4 separate regions of the Homo sapiens genome follow, and all the other regions are linked to region 1. Evidence: promoter capture Hi-C in human tissues and cell types (Jung and others, 2019). All regions are on one chromosome and are shown on one strand. The core of a region is centred on a gene start or on the middle of the fragment in contact, and the rest is flanking DNA. Distances in the headings are between cores, read along the strand shown.

Evidence for each region. The method cuts DNA at HindIII sites, captures the fragments that hold promoters and counts their contacts. A contact is called where the count stands out against the background at its distance.
Region 2: a fragment that was not itself captured here is called in contact with the fragment with the promoter of TARS2 in region 1 in 1 of the 25 tissues and cell types used here (pancreas).
Region 3: a fragment that was not itself captured here is called in contact with the fragment with the promoter of TARS2 in region 1 in 1 of the 25 tissues and cell types used here (aorta).
Region 4: a contact is called between the fragment with the promoter of CTSS here and the fragment with the promoter of TARS2 in region 1, in 1 of the 25 tissues and cell types used here (IMR-90 fibroblasts).

The regions. Positions count from the first base shown.
Region 1 is chr1:150,484,135-150,488,826 of GRCh38, reverse strand. It overlaps TARS2 (threonyl-tRNA synthetase 2, mitochondrial), which reads right to left and starts at 1,408. Exons shown (of 18, transcript NM_025150.5): 1 at 1,311-1,408; 2 at 773-969. The coding sequence starts at 1,376. LOC124904416 (a long non-coding RNA gene) reads right to left here and starts at 4,316. Exons shown (of 2, transcript XR_007066600.1): 1 at 4,038-4,316; 2 at 3,473-3,782. RefSeq lists enhancers at 1,314-1,583, 1,077-1,583. The HindIII fragment of the contact is 6,321 bases long and covers 1-4,692 here.
Region 2 is chr1:150,906,919-150,911,610 of GRCh38, reverse strand. The region is part of intron 1 of CTXND2 (cortexin domain containing 2); the gene reads right to left. LOC107985204 (a long non-coding RNA gene) reads left to right here. Exons shown (of 3, transcript XR_001738231.2): 2 at 4,520-4,609. Among named protein-coding and RNA genes, the nearest start is that of SETDB1, 17 kb to the left of the region's middle. The HindIII fragment of the contact is 6,057 bases long and covers 1-4,692 here.
Region 3 is chr1:150,823,605-150,828,296 of GRCh38, reverse strand. It overlaps ARNT (aryl hydrocarbon receptor nuclear translocator), which reads left to right. Exons shown (of 22, transcript NM_001668.4): 13 at 1,680-1,754. Among named protein-coding and RNA genes, the nearest start is that of CTSK, 18 kb to the right of the region's middle. RefSeq lists cis regulatory regions at 118, 683 and enhancers at 46-190, 611-755. The HindIII fragment of the contact is 6,293 bases long and covers 1-4,692 here.
Region 4 is chr1:150,764,528-150,769,219 of GRCh38, reverse strand. CTSS (cathepsin S) reads left to right here and starts at 3,442. Exons shown (of 8, transcript NM_004079.5): 1 at 3,442-3,522; 2 at 4,456-4,582. The coding sequence starts at 4,457. RefSeq lists cis regulatory regions at 3,496, 3,499 and enhancers at 3,424-3,568, 3,427-3,571, 4,502-4,551. The HindIII fragment of the contact is 11,511 bases long and covers 1-4,692 here.

The DNA of each region.
Region 1 (4,692 bases), core at 159-2,658:
AGAGGCTGGAAAGGATGGGGGAGGGGAGATGAAGAGGTTGGCTAATGGGTACAAAAATAGAGTTAGACAGAAGGAATATGCTCTAATGTTCCATAGCAGAGTTGGGTGAATACAGTTAATAATAATTTATTGTATATTTCAAAATAGCTAGAAGATTTGAAATAGTCCCAACACAAAGAAATGATAAATGTTTGGGGTAACAGATATCCTGAACACCCTGATTTGATCATTACATATTGTATGCATATATCAAAATATCACATATACCCATTCATATGTTCAATTATTATGTATCAATTATTAAAAAGTAAATTAATGATTTAAAACAGACAGGGTTACAATCCACAGTGGGGAGAAAGTTGCTCATCTCTCAGCAACTGTAAACTTGCAAAGGTGAAATGAGTTACCAGAGCAACAGAAGCTTTCATTTCTTTCCCCAATGAAAGGACAGAGACTCTGATGCAGAAACTAATACAGATAAAACAAATCTCAGGCCGGGTTTGGTGGCTCATGCCTGTAATCCCAGCACTTCGGGAGGCTGAGATGGAAGGATCGCTTGAGCCCAGGAGTTCAAGACTAGCCTGGGCAACATGGAGAGACCCCGTCTGTATAAAAGAACAACAACAAAAAACAAAAACAAAATCTTCAGGAAAGGCTATCTTAATGGGGACGGAACAGAAACAAGCAGACCAAGTTTTCTTCCCCTGCTCAAGTGAAGAGAAAGTAAAGGGGCAGAAGGATAATCCTGGTAGTTACAGGATGGGCCTGTTACCTGATCTGCCGGGCTAGTTGGTAGGGGGTTGTGTTCCATGCCACAGCATCAATTTTCTGGCCTCCAGGAAGTGATATCTTAATAGTCCGGGGTTCCTTCTGTGCCATGCTTGCTAATCTCTTTACCTGAGCAGCCCACAGCTCCTCAAAAAGGCCAAGCCGCTCTGCCAACCAGCGTGGAGGGGTCGACACAACTGCCTGGAGGGAAAGATATATTAGCAGGTAACACACGTCCCATCATTCTTTCTTAGAATTGCAGATGATGGCACTTTGGGATGGTTAAGTGGACTTCGTCCGAATTCCTACTTTTTAAGGGGATTGGGTGATACAAGACCCTAGGCTGGGGGTCCTTCGAGCTCAGAGTCCCCCAGACCGCTAACTCGAGAATTAGATAACGAGTTTAGATACGAGTCCTTTTCTGGGGACTCGGAGGACCAGGGAGAGGAGGAGTGGCGTGAGGCTGGGTTAACATAAAAATTTGGGGGCTTCGGCTGGGCTAAGTCTGATGCGGATCGGAGCTTTGGGGGTGCCTCACGCACCGTGTGTAGCCTGCAAGCCTGTAAACCTTGGAGCCGGAGACACCGCCACCTCTGATACAGGGCCATGTTCCTTCACACCAGTGCCTACATCCTCAAACAGATTATCGCCGCTTCTCCTCCACGTAATTCTTCATTGGCTTCTGGTCCAACAAAGTCCGTGTCTATTGGTTACTACAGCTGCCACTCTAGTCTGGCACCACCTCCAGGAACTCCGAAGAGGTACACCCTACACAGCACCAGCAGCGGTGTGAGTGGTTCCGGCTGACCGGAAGACCGAAAATGTAACACACCCTCGCTATTCCCCCAGACCCGTGGCGTTTCAGCTGAAACCCAAAAATAGCAATTAGGCGTCCTGTGGCTTTGAGGACAAGGGCAGGTGAACTTTTGAGGGCGAGAGTGGGAGAAAACCAGACAGGAAATGGTAGTAATTTCCCTTTAACTATACATTTTATTTTACGTGGTCCTTACAGCAAGTAGCAAAACTTAAGAGCATAGACTGGGGAACCAGACAGACCTAGTGTAAATTCTGGATCTGCCATTAACTATGTAATTTTGGGAAAATTATTAAACTTCTCATATTTATTTAATAGAGACCGGGGGGGGCGGGAGGGGGGGGCGGGTCTCACTATGTTGGCCAGGGTAGTCTCGAACTCCTGGCCTCAAGCAATCCCTCCCCTCCCCCCCACCAAACCGCCACCGCGCTCCGGCCTCCCAGAGTTCTGGAATTACAGGCATGAGCCGCCTTGCCTGACCTATTTAATTTCTCTAAGCCTCAATTTTCTCAACTATAAAATGAGAATAGTGTTGCTCCCAATTGTTGAGTTAAATTTTATGTAAATCGTCTAGTGTGGCCCATGGTTTTTTGGTAATGGGCAAAAGCAACAAGAAGCTATTATGATAAATGACTGTAACAGTTTTATTTTTTAATTTTGAGACAAGGTCTCACCGTTGCCCAGGCTGGAGTGCAGGGGTACAATCATGGCTCACTGCAGTCTCGACCTCCTGGGCTCAACTGACCACCTCAGCCTCTGGAGTAACCACTTTAAAGCTGGAGCAAAGATGGCCGCGCGCAGTGGCTCACGCTGTAATCCCAGCACTTTGGGAGGCCGAGGCAGGTGGATCACCTGAGGTCAGGAGTTCTAGACCAGCCTGGCCAACATGGTGAAACCCCGTCTCTACTAAAAATACAAAAATTAGCTGGGCGTGGTGGTGGGCGCCTGTAATCCCAGCTACTTGGGAGGCCGAGGCGGGTGGATCACCTGAGGTCAGGAGTTCTAGACCAGCCTGGCCAACATGGTGAAACCCCGTCTCTACTAAAAATACAAAAATTAGCTGGGCATGGTGGTGGGCGCCTGTAATCCCAGCTACTTGGGAGGCTGAGACAGGAGAATCGCTTGAACCCGGGAGGTGGAGGTTGCAGTGAGCCGAGATCACGCCATGCACTCCAGCCTGGGGGACAAGAGCGAGACTTCATCTCAAAACAAAACAAAAACAAAAAAGCTGGAATCAAGAATCTGCAGAGGTCAGTTTGAGTCCCTTTATACTCATGGTGCTTAATAGGGACTTTATAGACCTTTTAATCTTTTTTTTTTTTTTTTGAGATGGAGTTTCACTCTTGTTGCCCAGGCTGGAGTGCAGTGGCGTGATCTCGGCTTACCGCAACCTCCGCCTCCCCAGGTTCAAGCGCTTCTCCTGCCTCAGCCTCCCGAGTAGCTGGGATTACAGGCATGTGCCACCCCAGGCCCAGCTAATTTTGTATTTTTAGTAGAGACAGGGTTTCTCCATGTTGGTCAGGCTGGTCCCGAACTCCCAGCATCAGGTGATCCGCCTGCCTCAGCCTCCCAAAGTGCTGGGATTACAGGCGTGAGCCACCATGCCCGGCCGAGACCTTTTAATCTGACAGATGAGGAATTTAAGGTCAAACAGCAAGTGCTGATGGTGATTTCTGAATCCAAGCTTGGTTTTCTTTTACCACACCATGCTTTCTCTAGAAGAGTTTGCTCCCAGTATACTCCCCCATCACCTCAGAAAGAGGTGCCTGACTAGAATTTTAGCTCTCTGCTCCCTACATAAGCCCTTTGCCTCTAATTCCTATCCCAGCTCTCAACTTCCTTTATCCTTTCTCTTCCCTCTCCCTGATACATCTAGGACACAGGACTAGGTAAATTTCATCAAATTTACTCAGTAAATATGGGAACATGGTCAGATTTGTAGTAAAGTATGAAGGGAAACTGACTTGGGGGTAGCCATCAGGCTGTCAGTAATTCTCATTAGTCCCCTCACCTGGAGGTGGGGATGGTTAGAGTTGGTTCTGAAGTTTCAATGGTGATAGAATCAAGGGTTGTAGAGGAAGAGGTGTCAGAAAAAGCAGTTTAATCAAGGTTTCCGGAGAGACCAGGTTTCCCGGGCAGGGCAGTTGATCTGAGTCACAGGAGCCTCCATGGATCTTGGGTCCATCTTCTGGTAGACACCCTGAAATACAAAGAGAAAGAGACAAGAGTGTGGGAGAGGAAGATAACTTGTGTGTGTGTGGTTTGGAGAAGGTAGTTAAGAATTTTTAAATGGCATTCAGAAAGGGTGGCAACAGGCAGAATTCTTCTCATGCCTCTGCACCAAAAGGGGAAAGGTGTATTGCAGGCAACAAAATGGTAGGTGCCCAATAATTATTGAATCAAGTATGTACCAATCACGGTATTGATTTGATGCTCTCATTTACTAACTGCTTACTGTGTGCAATGCAGTGAGCTGGGTGCTGAGGGGATGCCGATCAATCAACTACCACATCATCACCTATGTAACTTGTGTTGCAGTGGAGGAAGGAAGGAATGTTGAGTTATTCCATCCGCCCTCTGTAAGAAGCAAGCAAGCAAGTAAGCAAGTGCAAGAGCAAGCTAAGGCCAATTCATGAGTTACTGGTTCTTCTACAACTTCGGACTTGTGACTAGCATATGCCTCAGTATTGGGGAATTTTAATCCATTAGTCAGCCTAGGAAACATCTATTCTTTTTTTTTTTTTTTTTTTTTTTTTTGAGGTGAAGTCTTGCTCTGTTGCCCGGCTGGAGTGCAGTGGCATGATCTTGGCTCACTGCAACCTCCGCCTCCTGGGTTCAAGTGATCCTCCTGCCTCAGCTTCCCCAGTAGCTGGGATTACAGGTGTACGCCACCACACCCAGCTAATTTTTTTTGAGTCAGAGTCTTGCTCTGTCGCCGAGGCTGGAGTGCAGTGGCGCTATCTTGGCTCACTGCAACCTCTGCCTCCCGGGTTCAAGTGATTCTTCTGCCTCAGCCTCCTGAGTAGCTGGGATTACAGGTGCGCGCCACCACGCTCGGCTAATTTTTGTATTTTTAGTAGAGACAGGGTTTCACCATGTCAGGCTGGTCT
Region 2 (4,692 bases), core at 1,451-3,950, 420 kb before region 1:
AAATACAAAAATTAGCCAGGTGTGATGGCGGGCACCTGTAATCCCAACTACTTGGGAGGCTGAGGCAGAATTGCTTGAACTCAGGAAGCGGAGTTTGCAGTAAGCCGAGACCGAGTCATTGCACTCCAGCCTGCGCAACAGAGCGAGACCCCACCTCAAAAAAAAAAAATAAATTTACATAAGGAAAACAGGAAAAAAAAACCCAAAACCTTACTCCATCAAGAAAATTCTGAAAAAGAAAAACAAAGTAAGAGGACTCATACTTCCCAATTTCAAAAACTCACTAAAAGCTACAGTAATCAAAACTATGGTACTGGTACAAAGACAGACATACAAATCAATGGAATAGAATTGAGAGTCCAGGGCCAGGCACGGTGGCTCACGCCTGTAATCCCAGCACTTTGGGAGGCCGAGGCAGGCGGATCACTTGAGGTCAGGAGTTCAACACCAGCCTGGCCAACATAATGAAACCCTGTCTCGACCAAAAAAAAAAAATACAAAAATTATGGCCAGGCACGATGGCTCATGCCTGTAAGCCCAGCACTTTGGGAGGCCGAGGCAGGCGGATTATGAGGTCAGGAGATCGAGACCATCCTGGCTAACACGGTAAAACCCCGTCTCTACTAAAAATACAAAAAATTAGCTGGGCGTGGTGGTGGGCACCTGTAGTACCAGCTACTCCGGAGGCTGAGGCAGGAGAATGGTATGAACCCAGGTGGCAGAGCTTGCGGTGAGCCGAGATCACGCCACTGCACTCCAGCCTGGGTGACAGAGCGAGACTCTGTCTCAAAAAATAAAAAAAAATACAAAAATTAGCCAGGCATGGTGATGCATGCCTGTAGCCCCAGCTACTTGGGAGGCTGAGGCAGGAGAATCACTTGAAACCAGGAGGCAAAGGTTGCAGTGAGCCGAGAGCATGCTACTGCACTCGAGCCTGGGCGACAGAGTGAGACTCTGTCTCAAAAAAAAAAAAAAAAAAATTGAGAGTCCAGAAATAAACCCATGTATCTATGACCAAGTAATTTTAAACTAGGGTACCAAGAAAATTCGGTGAGGAAAGAAAACAAATGGTGCTGGGACAACTGGATAGCCACATGCAAAAGAATTAAGTTAGACCCTTATTTTGAAATGAACCCAATAGTCCCATAGTTTTTTTTGTTTCAACAGAAATTGACCCTTCTTGCTGGGCGTGGTGGCTCACGCCTATAATACCAGCATTTTGGGAGGCCGAGGAGGGCGGATCACCTGAGGTCAGGAGTTTGAGACCAGCCTGGCCAACATGGCGAAACCCCATGTCTACTAAAAATATAAAAATTAGCTGGGTGTGGTAGCACACACCTGTAATCCCAGCTACTCAGGAGACTGAGGCAGGAAAATTGCTTGAACCTGGGAGGCAGAGGTTGCAGTGAGCTGAGATCATGCCACTGCACTCCAGCCTGGGTGACAGATGGAGACCCGTCTCAAAAAAAAAAAAAAAGAAAAAAAAAAAACAGAAAAAAGAAAAAGAAATTGACCTTCTGGTCTTAAAGCTTAAAACTTACATTTGTTTTATGTTGAGTTCCTTCTTCAGGAAAGGGCCACCAGGCCTCTCAAAAAAAGTATCAAGGAACTGAAACTCAACCAGATCATCCCATCCTGACAATGAAGTGCAAGACCCCTCATTGGTCACAAGTGCTTTCTTGGCCTCCTGAGTTCCTGTTTTCCTACACATTGTTACATTTCTTCCTTGCTATATAAACCTCTAATTTTAGTTGGTCAGGGAGATGGATTTGTGACTGAGTTCCGGTTTCCTCTGCTGCAGCACCTGAGTAAAGCCTTCTTCTTTGGCAATACCTGTCATCTCAGGGGCAGGTATTGCTCATCTTTCTGTGTGGTGAGCAGCAGGACCTAGACCGAACTCCTGGTGTTTTGGTAACAATTTCACACCACATACAAAGATAAACTTAAAATGGATCAAAGACCTAAATGTAAGGATTCTTAGATATGACAGCAAAATCACGAGCAACAAAAAAGAGAGAAACTGGACTTCATCAAAATTTAAAACTTTTTTCTTTGAGACAGGGTCTCACTTTGTCACCCAGGCTGGAGTGCTATGGTGCCGTCTGGGGTCACTGCAGCCTCGACCTCCCAGGCTAAATTGATCCTCCCATCTCAACCTTCCAAGTAGCTGGGACTACAGGTGCACGTCATCATGCCCGGCTAATTGTTTTTTGTTTGTTTGTTTTGGTAGAGATGGAGTTTCACCATGTTGCCCAGGCTGGTCTCAAACTCCTGGGCTCAAGAGATCTGCCCTCCTTAGCCTCCCAAAGTGTTAGGATTGTATGAGCTACTGTGCCTGGTCAACACTTTTGTACTTTTTTTTTTTTTTTTTTTGAGAAGGAGTCTTGCTCTGTCGCCCAGGCTGGAGGGCAATGGCGTGATCTCGGCTCACTGCAACCTCTGCCTCCCAGGTTCAAGCGATTCTCCTGCCTCACCCTCCCGAGTAGCTGGGATTATAGGCGCCCCCACCATGCCCGGCTACGTTTTGTATTTTTAGTAGAGTCGGGTTTCACCATGTTGGCCAGGCTGGGCTCAAACTCCTGACCTCAGGTGATCTGCCCCCCTTGGCCTCCCAAAGTGCTGGGATTACAGGCGTGACCCACTGCGCCCAGCCAACTTTTGTACTTTAAGAAGCTTATTATCAAGAAAATGGGCTGGGCACGGTGGCTTATGCCTGACCAGCACTTTGGGAGGATGAGGTGGGAGGATCACTTGAGGTCAGGAGTTTGAGACCAGCCTGGGTAGTAAGGAGATACCTTGTTTCTTAATTTTTTTTTTTTTAATTAGCTAGGTGTGTGGCATATGTGTGTGGTCCTAGCTACTGGAGAGGCTGAGGCAGAAGGATCCTTTGAGCCCAGGAGTTCAGGGTTATAGTGAGCTATGATCGCACCACTGTACTCCAGCCTGGGTGACGGAGAGAGACCTGATAACCAAAGTTACAACGAAACAATGAAAAGACAACTCAATTAAAAATTAGGCAAAGGATATGAATAGAAATTTCTTTTTCTGCATAAGGAAGATATGCAAATGGCCAATAAACACATTTTTTAAATGGTCAACGTAATTAGTCATCAGGGAAATGGAAATCAAAACTTTGAGATACCACTTCACACCCACTAGGATGACTAGAATCAAGTCAGATTAAGTGTTGACAAAGGTAGAAAGTAATTGAAACCCTCATTGACGGTTGGTGGGAATGTAAAGTGGCAAAGTTACTTTGGAAAACAGTCTGGAAGTTCCTAAAATTATGAAACATAAGAGTTACTGGCCAGGTATGGTGGCTCACGCCTATAATCCCAGCACTTTGGGCAGCCAAGGTGGGTGGAGGATCACTTTAGTCCAGGAGTTCAAGACCAGCCTGGGCAACATGGCAAACCTTCCTCTCTACAGAAAATACAAAAATTAGTTAGATGTGATGGCGCACACCTGTAATCCCAGCTACTTGGGGGGCAGAGGCGGGAGGATCACCTGAGCCTGGGAGGCTGCAGTGAGCTTTGATCATGCCACCATACTCCAGCCTGAGTGACAGAGTGAGACACTGTCTAAAAAAAAAAAAAAAAGCTGGCTGGGCACGGTGGCTCACGCCTGTAATCCCAGCACTTTGGGAGGCCAAGGCGGGTGGATCACAAGGTTAGGAGATCAAGACCATCCTGGCTAACACGGTGAAACCCCATCTCTACTAAAAATACAAAAAATTAGCCGGGCGTGGTGGCAGGTGCCTGTAGTCCCAGCTACTCGGGAGGCTGAGGCAGGAGAATGGCGTGAACCTGGGAGGCGGAGCTTGCGGTGAGCCAAGATTGCGCCACTGCACTCCAGCCTGGGTGAGAGTGCGAGACTCCGTCTCAAAAAAAAAAAAAAAAAAAAAAAGCCACCATATGACGCAGCAATTCCACTCCTATGGCTGTCCCCAGGAGAAATGAAAACATGTGACCACACAAAAACTTATACAAGAATGTTTGTAGCAGCATTATTCATCATAGCCAAAAGGTAGAAACAACTCAAATGTCCATCAACTTATAAATGGATAAGCAAAGTGTGGTATGTCTACACAATAGACTATTATTGGCCATAAAAAGGAAGTACATACTACTTGGATGAAACTTAAAGCATTAAGCTGAGTGAAAGAAACAAGTCACAAACGCCCCCAGCATATTATATAATTCCATTCACATGTAAGTCTAGAATAGAGAAATCTATAGAGACAGATTAGTGGTTGCTTAGAGCTGGAGGTGGGGGATGAGGGGGTGAAAGTTAAATGATACAGGTTTTCTTTTGGAGGTGATAAAAATGTTCTACAACTGTGGTAATGGTAAAACATTTCTGTGAATGTGCTAAAAACCATTCAATTGTACATTTGAAATGGTTGAATTGTATGTGAATTATATCTTAATAAAGCTGGTTTTTGTAAAACCTTAGTTCAGTTTTAAATTCCTAATCTTATAGAGGATTTAGAGTTCTATTAGCTCTTCTCCCTTTTCAGGCTTCTTCTTCTGCATTGTACAGGATCAGGAAGAAAGGAAGGGGAAAATGTGAAGTGTTTCTCTATTTAATGAATCAGCTGTGGCCAACTGTGAGTAGGTGACCTGGTCTTACTCTGGTTAGATCTGGTGGTTTCAGAGTGAAGGATGTTTGTAGTTTTTTGAGTAGCGTTTC
Region 3 (4,692 bases), core at 1,555-4,054, 340 kb before region 1:
TTACAAAAATCAGCTTAGAGGCCTAAATGTGTAAGAGCTAAAGTTACAAATAAACTCCTAGGAGAAAATCTTTGTGATTTTGAGTTAGGCAAAAGATTTCTTACACTAAAAGCATGATTCACAGAAGAAAAAAAATTATAAATTGGATTTAATTGTAATTAAAATTTGCCCTCTTTAAAGGATATTATTAAGAAAATGAAAAGACCAGACATAAATGGAGAGAAAATAGTTACAAGTCATATACCTGAAAGAGGATTTGTACCAGGAATATATAAACAACTCATTAAGACAAACAGCTGGTAAAAAAGAGCATAAGACTTGACATTTGACTGAAGAATAAATATGCATTTATGCACATGAAAAGATGCTCAACATCTTTTTACCATTAGGAAAGTGCAAATTAAAATCACAATGAGATACCACTATATACCCACTAGAATGGCTGTAATCAAAAAGTATTGGTGAAAATGTGTAGAAGCTGGAAGGAACCCTCATACATTGCTGATAGACATGTAAAATGGTATAGCTACTAGCTTTGCAAAAGCATTTTGGCAGTTTCCTACAAAGTTAAACATACTCTTAGCCTATAACCTAGCAATTTTATTCCTGAGTATCTACCTAAGAGAAATGAAAACATGTTCACCCATAGATTTGTACACAGTTCATATCTGTATTATTCATAATAGCCAAAAAAATGAAAACTATTTAAACGTCCATTAACATTTTGTAAATGAATACACAACTGTGTTGTATCCATGTGAGAATACTACTGAGCATAAAAAGGAATAAACTACTGATAATGCAGCCATGTAGATGAACTTCAAAAATACCATGCTCAATGAAAGAAGCCAGACCCAAAAGACCACATATTATGTTGTTTTATTTATATGAAATTTGTAGAAATAGCAGAACTAGAGAGGCAGAAAGCAGATTTGTGGTTGGCTGGGGAGTTGGAGTGGGAGCAGAGATTGACTGCAGATGGCACAAGGGAACATCTTGGGGCAGTGAATGTGTTCTGAAACTGGATTGTGGTAATCATTGCACAACTATAAATTTAGTAGACATCATCAAATCATACACTTAGAATGGCTGAATTATGAATGTAAATTTTATCTAAAATTTATAATCTCATTAAAATAAATGTATAATATTCTGAGAAAGAAAAATGTTTTAGAAGCCAGCTCCTTAACAGATTCTGCCTTTTTTTAGTAGATTTCATCTTTTGTTTATTGTCTTTTTTTTTTCTCCTCCTCACTTAACTATAATCTTAGGATTAAAACAGAAGAAATAAAATCCAGGTCCCCAGCTGATGGACCAGGCCAGTTAGATGACCATAAAATTATATATGTTGGCTGGGCACGGTGGCTCACACCTGTAATCCCAGCGCTTTGGGAGGCCGAGGCGGGTGGATCACTTGAGGTCAGGAGTTCGAGACCAGCCTGACCAACATGGTGAAACCCTGTCTCTATTTAAAAAAATACAAAATTAGCCAGGTGTGGTAGCACACCCCTGTAATCCCAGCTACTTGGGAGGTTGAGACAGGAAAATTGCTTGAACTCAGGAGGTGGAGGTTGCAGTGAGCCAAGATCGCGCCATCGTACTCCAGCCTGGGCAACAAGAGCGAAACTCCATCTTAAAAAAAAAAAAGTATATATCTTACTCTTCTTTCTGTATTCTAGGAACTCTTAGGAAAGAATATTGTAGAATTCTGTCATCCTGAAGACCAGCAGCTTCTAAGAGACAGCTTCCAACAGGTAACTTTTTTCCTGGTTTGGTTCTGAATAAATATTTGTCATATTCACTCCATAAATATTGACTACTGATTAACTGAACACTGTGGCAGGCACTACAGTTTTATGTTCTTTAGTAGTTAATCTGCATTTTTAAGGAATAGAAAAGGACTAATACTTTGAAATTATGGATAATGCCCAAGGTATTTCTGTTTGGCTTTGGCTATTTACTGTCTTGTATTCAATTAACTGTATCCAAGGAGCTGTCTTTAAGGTATTTAAACTATTGCGCCAGGCATGGTGGCTCATGCGCCCAACCTCTGTAGATGCTGTGAAAATAGATGTTTTCCTCGTCTGGGCATGGTGGCTCACGCCTATAATCCCAGCACTCTGGGAGGCTGAGGCAGGTGGATCACTTGAGGCCAGGAGTTCAAGCCCAGCCTGGCCAACACAGTGAAACCCCATGTCTACTAAAAATACAAAAAATTAGCCTGGTATGGTGGTGCATGCCTGTAATCCCAGGTACTCGGGAGGCTGAGGCACGAGAATCACTTGAACCTGGGAGGCAGAGGTTGCTGTGAACTGAGATCATGCCACTGTACTCTAGCCTGGATGACAGAGCTAGACTCTGTCTCAAAAAAAAAAAGATAAAAAAGAAAATTGTATACTTCACTAAGCTTGTAGTAGAAAAATTCATTTTATATAGTTTTTTTTTTTTTTTAGAAGGAGTCTAGCTCTGTCGCCAGGGTGGAGTGTAGTGTGCAATCTCAGCTCATTGTAACCTCTGCCTCTTAGGTTCAAGCGATTCTCCTGTTTCAGCCCCCCGAGTAGCTGGGATTATAGGCACATGCTGCCACGCCCAGCTAATTTTTGTATTTTTAGTAGAGGCGGGGTTTCACCACGTTGGCCAGGATGGTCTCGATCTCCTGACCTCGTGATCCACCCACCTCAGCCTCCCAAGGTGCTAGGATTACAGGCATGAGCCATTGCGCCCAGCCTAGACTGTTCTTTTATGGATGAGTGAGAGTCGTAATGAATTATATAAGCTGACTGTTAATTGTCATTCTCAGGCTCCAGCTCCTGAAAATATCTGGTGAATTTTATAGACATGGCTTTTGATAACGGTTTTTACTTTGTATTAGACAAGTTAATTAACCTCTTTAAGTCTCAGTAGTGTCGTTATTGATACAATGAATATATTAATAGTACCTAAATTCAGACGGTTGTTGGGAAGATTAAATAAGGTAATGAATATAAAACACATCACCCAGTATTTGATACGTAGTATTACAAAATAAGTGGTTAGCTTCTAATACTGTTTATTTTTATTTTTTTAATTTTTAGGAATATAGAGTTAAAAGATTATTTTCTATTCCATGAGACTAGTATCTAAAATAACCTAAAATTGGCTGGGCATGGTCGCTCATGCCTGTAATCCCAGCACTTTGGGAGGCTGAGGCAGGTGATCACTTGAAGCCAGGAGTTTGAACCAGCCTGGCCAACATCTTGAAACCCTGTCTCTACTAAAAATACAAAAATTAGCCGGGTATGGTGGCTCATGCCTGTAGTCCCAGCTACTTGGGAGGCTGAGGCATGAGAATTGCTTGAACCCAGGAGGCAGAGGTTGCAGTGACCCAAGATTGCCCCACTGCACTCCAGCCTGGGCGATAGAGCAAGACTGTCTAAAAATAAAATAAAATAAAAAATAAAATAACTAAAATTACTTTTAAAAAATAAAAGCAAAACAAGACTAAAGCCAACTTAATTTTATTTATGGAAACCTCTGTAGATGCTGTGAAAACAGATGCTCTCATCTGGGTGCAGTGGCTCACACCTATAATCCCAGCACTTTGGGAGGCCAAGGCAGGCGGATCATTTGAGGTCAGGAGTTTGAGACCAGCCTAGCCAACATGGTGAAAACCCGTCTCTACTAAAAATACAAAAATTAGCTGGGCGTGATGGTGCACGCCTCTAGTCCCCAGCTACTCAGGAGGCTGAGGCAGGAGAATCACTTGAACCCTGGAGGCGAGGTTGCAGTGAGCCAAGATTGCACCACTGCACTCCAGCCTGGCGACAGAGCGAGACTCCATCTCAAAAAAAAAAAAAAAGAAAAAGAAAAGAAAACAGATGTTCTCAGGTTTCGGGGAAAAAATAGGATTGAAGAGCAATATATAAGCTATATTCTGTGTCCTTAAACTTACCAAATTTCTGGTATAGACTTGTAAAGCTAGGTCAGAGTATCTTTAATGGATTTCCCAAGGGAAGTAGGGAAACAGTCTTTTCCTTCCTGGAAATAAGTTATTATTCCTATTTGACTAGAATAGTATTAGGTTGGTGCAAAAGAAATTGTGATTTTTTGCCATTTTTTTAAATGGCAAAAAATGCAATTACTTTTGCACCAACCTAATAAGAAAGCTTGAGTCTCTGGCCGGGCTCAGTGGCTCACGCCTGTAATCCTAGCACTTTGGGAGGCCGAGGCAGGCGGATCCCGAGGTCGGGAAATCGAGACCATCCTGGCCAACATGGTGAAACCCCGTCTATACTAAAAATACAAAAATTAGCTGGGCGTGGTGGCACGTGCCTATAATCTCAGCTACTTGGGAGGCTGAGGCAGGAGAATCGCTTGAACCAGGGAGTCGGAGGTTGTAGTGAGCCGAGATTGCGCCACTGCACTCTAGCCTGGTGACAGAGCGAGACTCCGTCTCAAAAAAAAAAAAGTCTGGGCACGGTGGCTCACACTTGTAATCCCAGCACTTTGGGAGGCCGAGGCGGGCGGATCACAAGGTCAGGAGATCAAGACCATCCTGGCTAACATGGTGAAACCCCGTCTCTACTAAAAATACAAAAAATTAGCTGGGCGTGGTGGCACGCGCCTGTAGTCCCAGCCACTCGGGAGGCTGAGGCAAGAAAATCGCTTGAACCCGAGGGGTGGTGGTTGCAGTGAGCAGAGATCGTGCCACTG
Region 4 (4,692 bases), core at 2,193-4,692, 280 kb before region 1:
TATTTAAACATTGTTTCCACTAAAAGGAACCAGAGCTCCTTGGAGAAATGGCTGATTCCAGGTCTGGGGCAGGAATTGTTCAAGACAAACCTGCAATAGCCTGTCATATTAGAAAGAAAGGAAGCTTTTAAAGAGTACTAATATTATGCCAAATATACAAACTCTGTCTGCACCAAAGAGCCAGTTTGAATAAATTCCTACAGACCAAAAATGAGACAATATGAGTATCAATAAGGATAAAACTGGAATGGATTGAAACACATCAAATATGTTTAAATCCATGAATTCATAATGATATAAACATAACTCAATGGTTTCACAATATATGGAGCTTATTTAAATCTCAATTCAAACAAACTATTAAAAAATGTATAAGACAGTCCAGAAAATGTGAACATTGATAGGATGTCTGATGACATTAAGAAATTATTGTCTTAATTTCTTATGACAATAAAGTGGCTCACACCTGTAAACCCAGTACTTAGGGAGGCTGAGGTGGGCAGATTACCTATGGTCAGGAGTTCGAGACAAGCCTGGCCAATGTGGTGAAACCCCATCTCTACTAAAAATACAAAAATTAGCTGGGTGTGATGGCACATGCCTGTAATCCCAGCCACTTGGGAGGCTGAGGCAGGAGAATCGCTTGAACTCGGCAGGCAGAGATTGCAGTGAGCTGGGATCACACCACTGCACTCCAGCCTGGGCAAGTGAGTGAGACTCTGTCTCAGAAAAAAAAAAAAAAGAAAATTATTGTTCATTTATTTTAGATGTGATGATGGTATTGTGGTATTATATTTGTTTAATAGTCTCTGTCTTTTAAAGACACACACAGGGACATTTACGTATGAAATGACAGAATGTCTAGAATTTATTTAATATAATTCAGGTAGTGAGAGTGGGAATATAAATAAAATAAGATTGGCCATGTACTGATCATTGTTGAAACAAGACAATGGTTTCACGGCAGCTCATTTTACTACTATTTTTACTTTTACATGTGTTTTAAATTTTCCATAAGCAGTATCTTTTTAAAAAAAACTGTATGGCTACAAACACAAACATGTCTACTACAGCTGAGATGAATCAACATTATAATGATGTTACTTCTCCCTAAATTTATGCATATATTCAAATAAAAACTCTAATAGCCAGATGTGGGGGCTCATGCCTGTAATCCCAGCACTTCAGGAGGCCAAGGTGGGCAGATTGCTTGAGCCCAGGAGTTTGAGGCCAGCCTGGGCAACATGGTGAAACCCCTTATCTACAAAAAACAAAAAACAAAATCAGCCAGGCATGGTGGTGTGCACCTGTAGTCCCAGCCACTCCAGAGGCTGAGGCGGGAGGATCACTTGAGCCCAGGAGGTCAAGGCTGCAGTGAGCCATGATTGCATCACTGCACTCCAGCCTGGGTGACAGAATGAAACCCTGTCTCCAAAAGAAAAAAGCAAAAAACTCCAACAGAGTTTTTCAGGGAACTTGATAAACTGATTCAAAAAATTCATATAAAGAAGAGTTAACAAGTACAAAATACAAAGACAATGTTTAAAAAGAAGAACAAAGATAGGGTGGCCTAGATGACTTGCCTTACCATACGTGGAGACATATTACAAAGCTGTTTTAATTAAAACTGTGTGATACTGAAGTAGCAAAAGATAAAAAGAACAGCTTCATGAGCTCAGAAACTGACCTATCTATGTATGAGAATTTGGTGTACAATAGAGGTAGAATCAAAATTGGAAAACAAAGAAAATAAGCTCCCTACGTCATACCATACACAAAACTAAATTCCAGGTGAATTAAACACCTAAAAGCAGTAGCCATAGAAAAGATAAATAAAACACTCTCTGAAAGTATAAAAATAAGATGAGTGTATCTTTATTACATTTGGATGAGGAAAATTTTCTTATACAAAAACAGTATAGATTGATTATACGGAAAAGCTGAATAAAATGTTCTACCTCAACATAAAAAAATTTCATATAGAAAAACTCACTATAAACAAGACTAAAGGACAAGTGGAATTTCATAGGCTTATGCAAAGGAAGAAAAAATAAAATAAAAGACAAGTGGAAGACTAAGGGAGGATGTTTTTAAGGGTATATAACTGTCAAAGATTAGAAGCCAGAATATATTTTTAAAACACATACACCTTGGCCGGGCACGGTGGCTCACACCTGTAATCCCAGCACTTTGGGAGGCTGAGGCGGGTGGATCACGAGGTGAAGAGTTCAAGACCAGCCTGGCCAAGATGGTGAAACCCTGTCTCTACTAAAAATACAAAAATTAGCTGGACATGCTGGCAGGTGCCTGTAATCCCAGCTACTTGGGAGTCTGAGGCAGAGAATCGCTTGAACCTGGGAGGTGGATGTTGCAGTGAGCCAAGATCGCACCAATGCACTCCAGCATGGGAGACAAAGCACGACTCCGTCTCGGAAAACACACAACACACACACACACACACACCTCCCACAAATCACTAAGAAAATGCAACAATACAATAGAAAAATGAGCAAAAAAGATGAACAGGAAATTCACAGAAAATTCAAACGGTCAATAAATGTGTGAAAAGATCCTCAACCTCATTAGTAATTAGGAAAATGCAAATTTAAAAGATGATAGTTCGTCTTGCTCCCACCCCACCCAGGTAATCATTCTCAATTGGATATATTTGAGTGTATCCTTTTTTCCATGAATATACTAACACATACACACACACACACACACACACACGCATATTACTAAACTATACATATAGTATATATTAATAAAGACATTTTGAGTTTGATGAACGAAGGAATGGCTGAGTGAGAACCAGACAATATCAGATCATGAATGAGTTGTGTTAAAAGCAGTAAGACAGGTTTTCCTAGGAAATCATACAAGGAGCTGGGATTTGGGGAGCTTTATCTAAATCTCTTTATAACTAAATGTTTTCCATGTAAAAGTTGGTGTTTTTAAAATTCAATTTAATTTTTTTTTTGAGATAGGGTCTTGATATGTCATCCAGGCTGAAACACAGTGGCATAATCATGGCTCACTGCAGCCTTGTCCTCCTAGACTCAAGCAATTCTCCCACCTCACCCTCCCCCTCAGCTGGGACTACAAGCATGCACCACCATGCCCAGCTAATTAAAAAAAATTTTTTTGCAGAGACAGGGTCTCACTATATTGCCTAGGCTGGTCTTGAACTCCTGGCCTCAAGTGATCCTCCCGCCTCAGCCTCCCAAAGTGCTGGGATTATAGGCATGAGCCACTGGGCTCAGACAAGGGCTCTTCTTGATGGCTTACTGTATCCACTTTGTCCCCAAGACCATAGGGAAATGACTAGAGGTGACTGTACTAGCTAGATTTTAAATGAAACTGAAATGAAAGTTCACTTCCTCATTTTGAGTACCTCATGTGACAAGTTCCAATTTCTTTTCAAGTCAATTGAACTGAAATCTCCTTGTTGCTTTGAAATCTTAGAAGAGAGCCCACTAATTCAAGGACTCTTACTGTGGGAGCAACTGCTGGTTCTATCACGTATGTACTCTTTGTTCTTTTTCTCCCATTTGGTCTTCAAACACTCTGTGTTTGTAACTTGTTCTGCCTGCTAGGTTTTAAATCTTTGGTTTCAGGAAGTAAACTAAAAAATCGTGTCGTTCAATTTGCCTCTTCTCTATTTTTAAAAAGTTAATGTCTGCTTGAGCATCTAAGCATCTAAGTTGAGACTGAAACATGGCTTTCTTTGGAATATAATTTAAAGGCTTACATGTTTAAAATTCCAGATGTTTTCAATTAAAAAGAAATGGAAAAGAAAGTAGAATCCAGTTTGAGGGAGCTAGTCGCTGAATTTCTGTTGATGTCTCTTGAATTAAATACAGAAGTGGCATTTTAAAGAGTAGTTAATTGCCTCATTTGAAACAGATGTCTGATCATTAAAAAAAAAAAAACGTAAAAAGGAAAATTACCTACCTAAAGATGTGAAAGCAATAGATGAGAATTGTCTTTTAACTATCTGTAAAGACTGTGGATATTTAAACAGGTCAGTTAAGAAGAGCCCATGTATTCAAAAATTCAGGAGATAAACTGATTTTTCAGAGGTTTGTCTCTCTTAAGGATGATTTTTTTTTTTTTTTGAGAGAGAGAGAAAGAGATTTCCTTTGATTAGATTTGTTGGCAAATCCTGGAAAGTCCCTGTTTTCTAACCCTCTAGATGTGTTTGGTTTACCAGATATTGGGAAATTCCTGGAAATCACTTTTTAAAGTGCTACTAAGCATTGGAAGTAGTATTTCTGACATAAATCTGCAGCTGTTCCCTGTGACTATATATCCCAGGAATTTTCCTGTATAATTCTGTTTATAATAGTCTGTCCCTTTGATAGACTTTGCATTGTTATTTTCTCTTATGAAAACATGTGGTCACAACATATGCAGCTAATAGCAACACTTCCTATGTTACCTTTCCTTACACAGAATGAAACGGCTGGTTTGTGTGCTCTTGGTGTGCTCCTCTGCAGTGGCACAGTTGCATAAAGATCCTACCCTGGATCACCACTGGCATCTCTGGAAGAAAACCTATGGCAAACAATACAAGGAAAAGGTAGATTGGATTGCCACTCGAGCGATATGCTTTTAAAGGAGTACTGTTTTCTACCTCTTAAAATTGTGTTCTTACAGGCAGTGTTTTCAGTAAATATTTAAGCTGGGTGT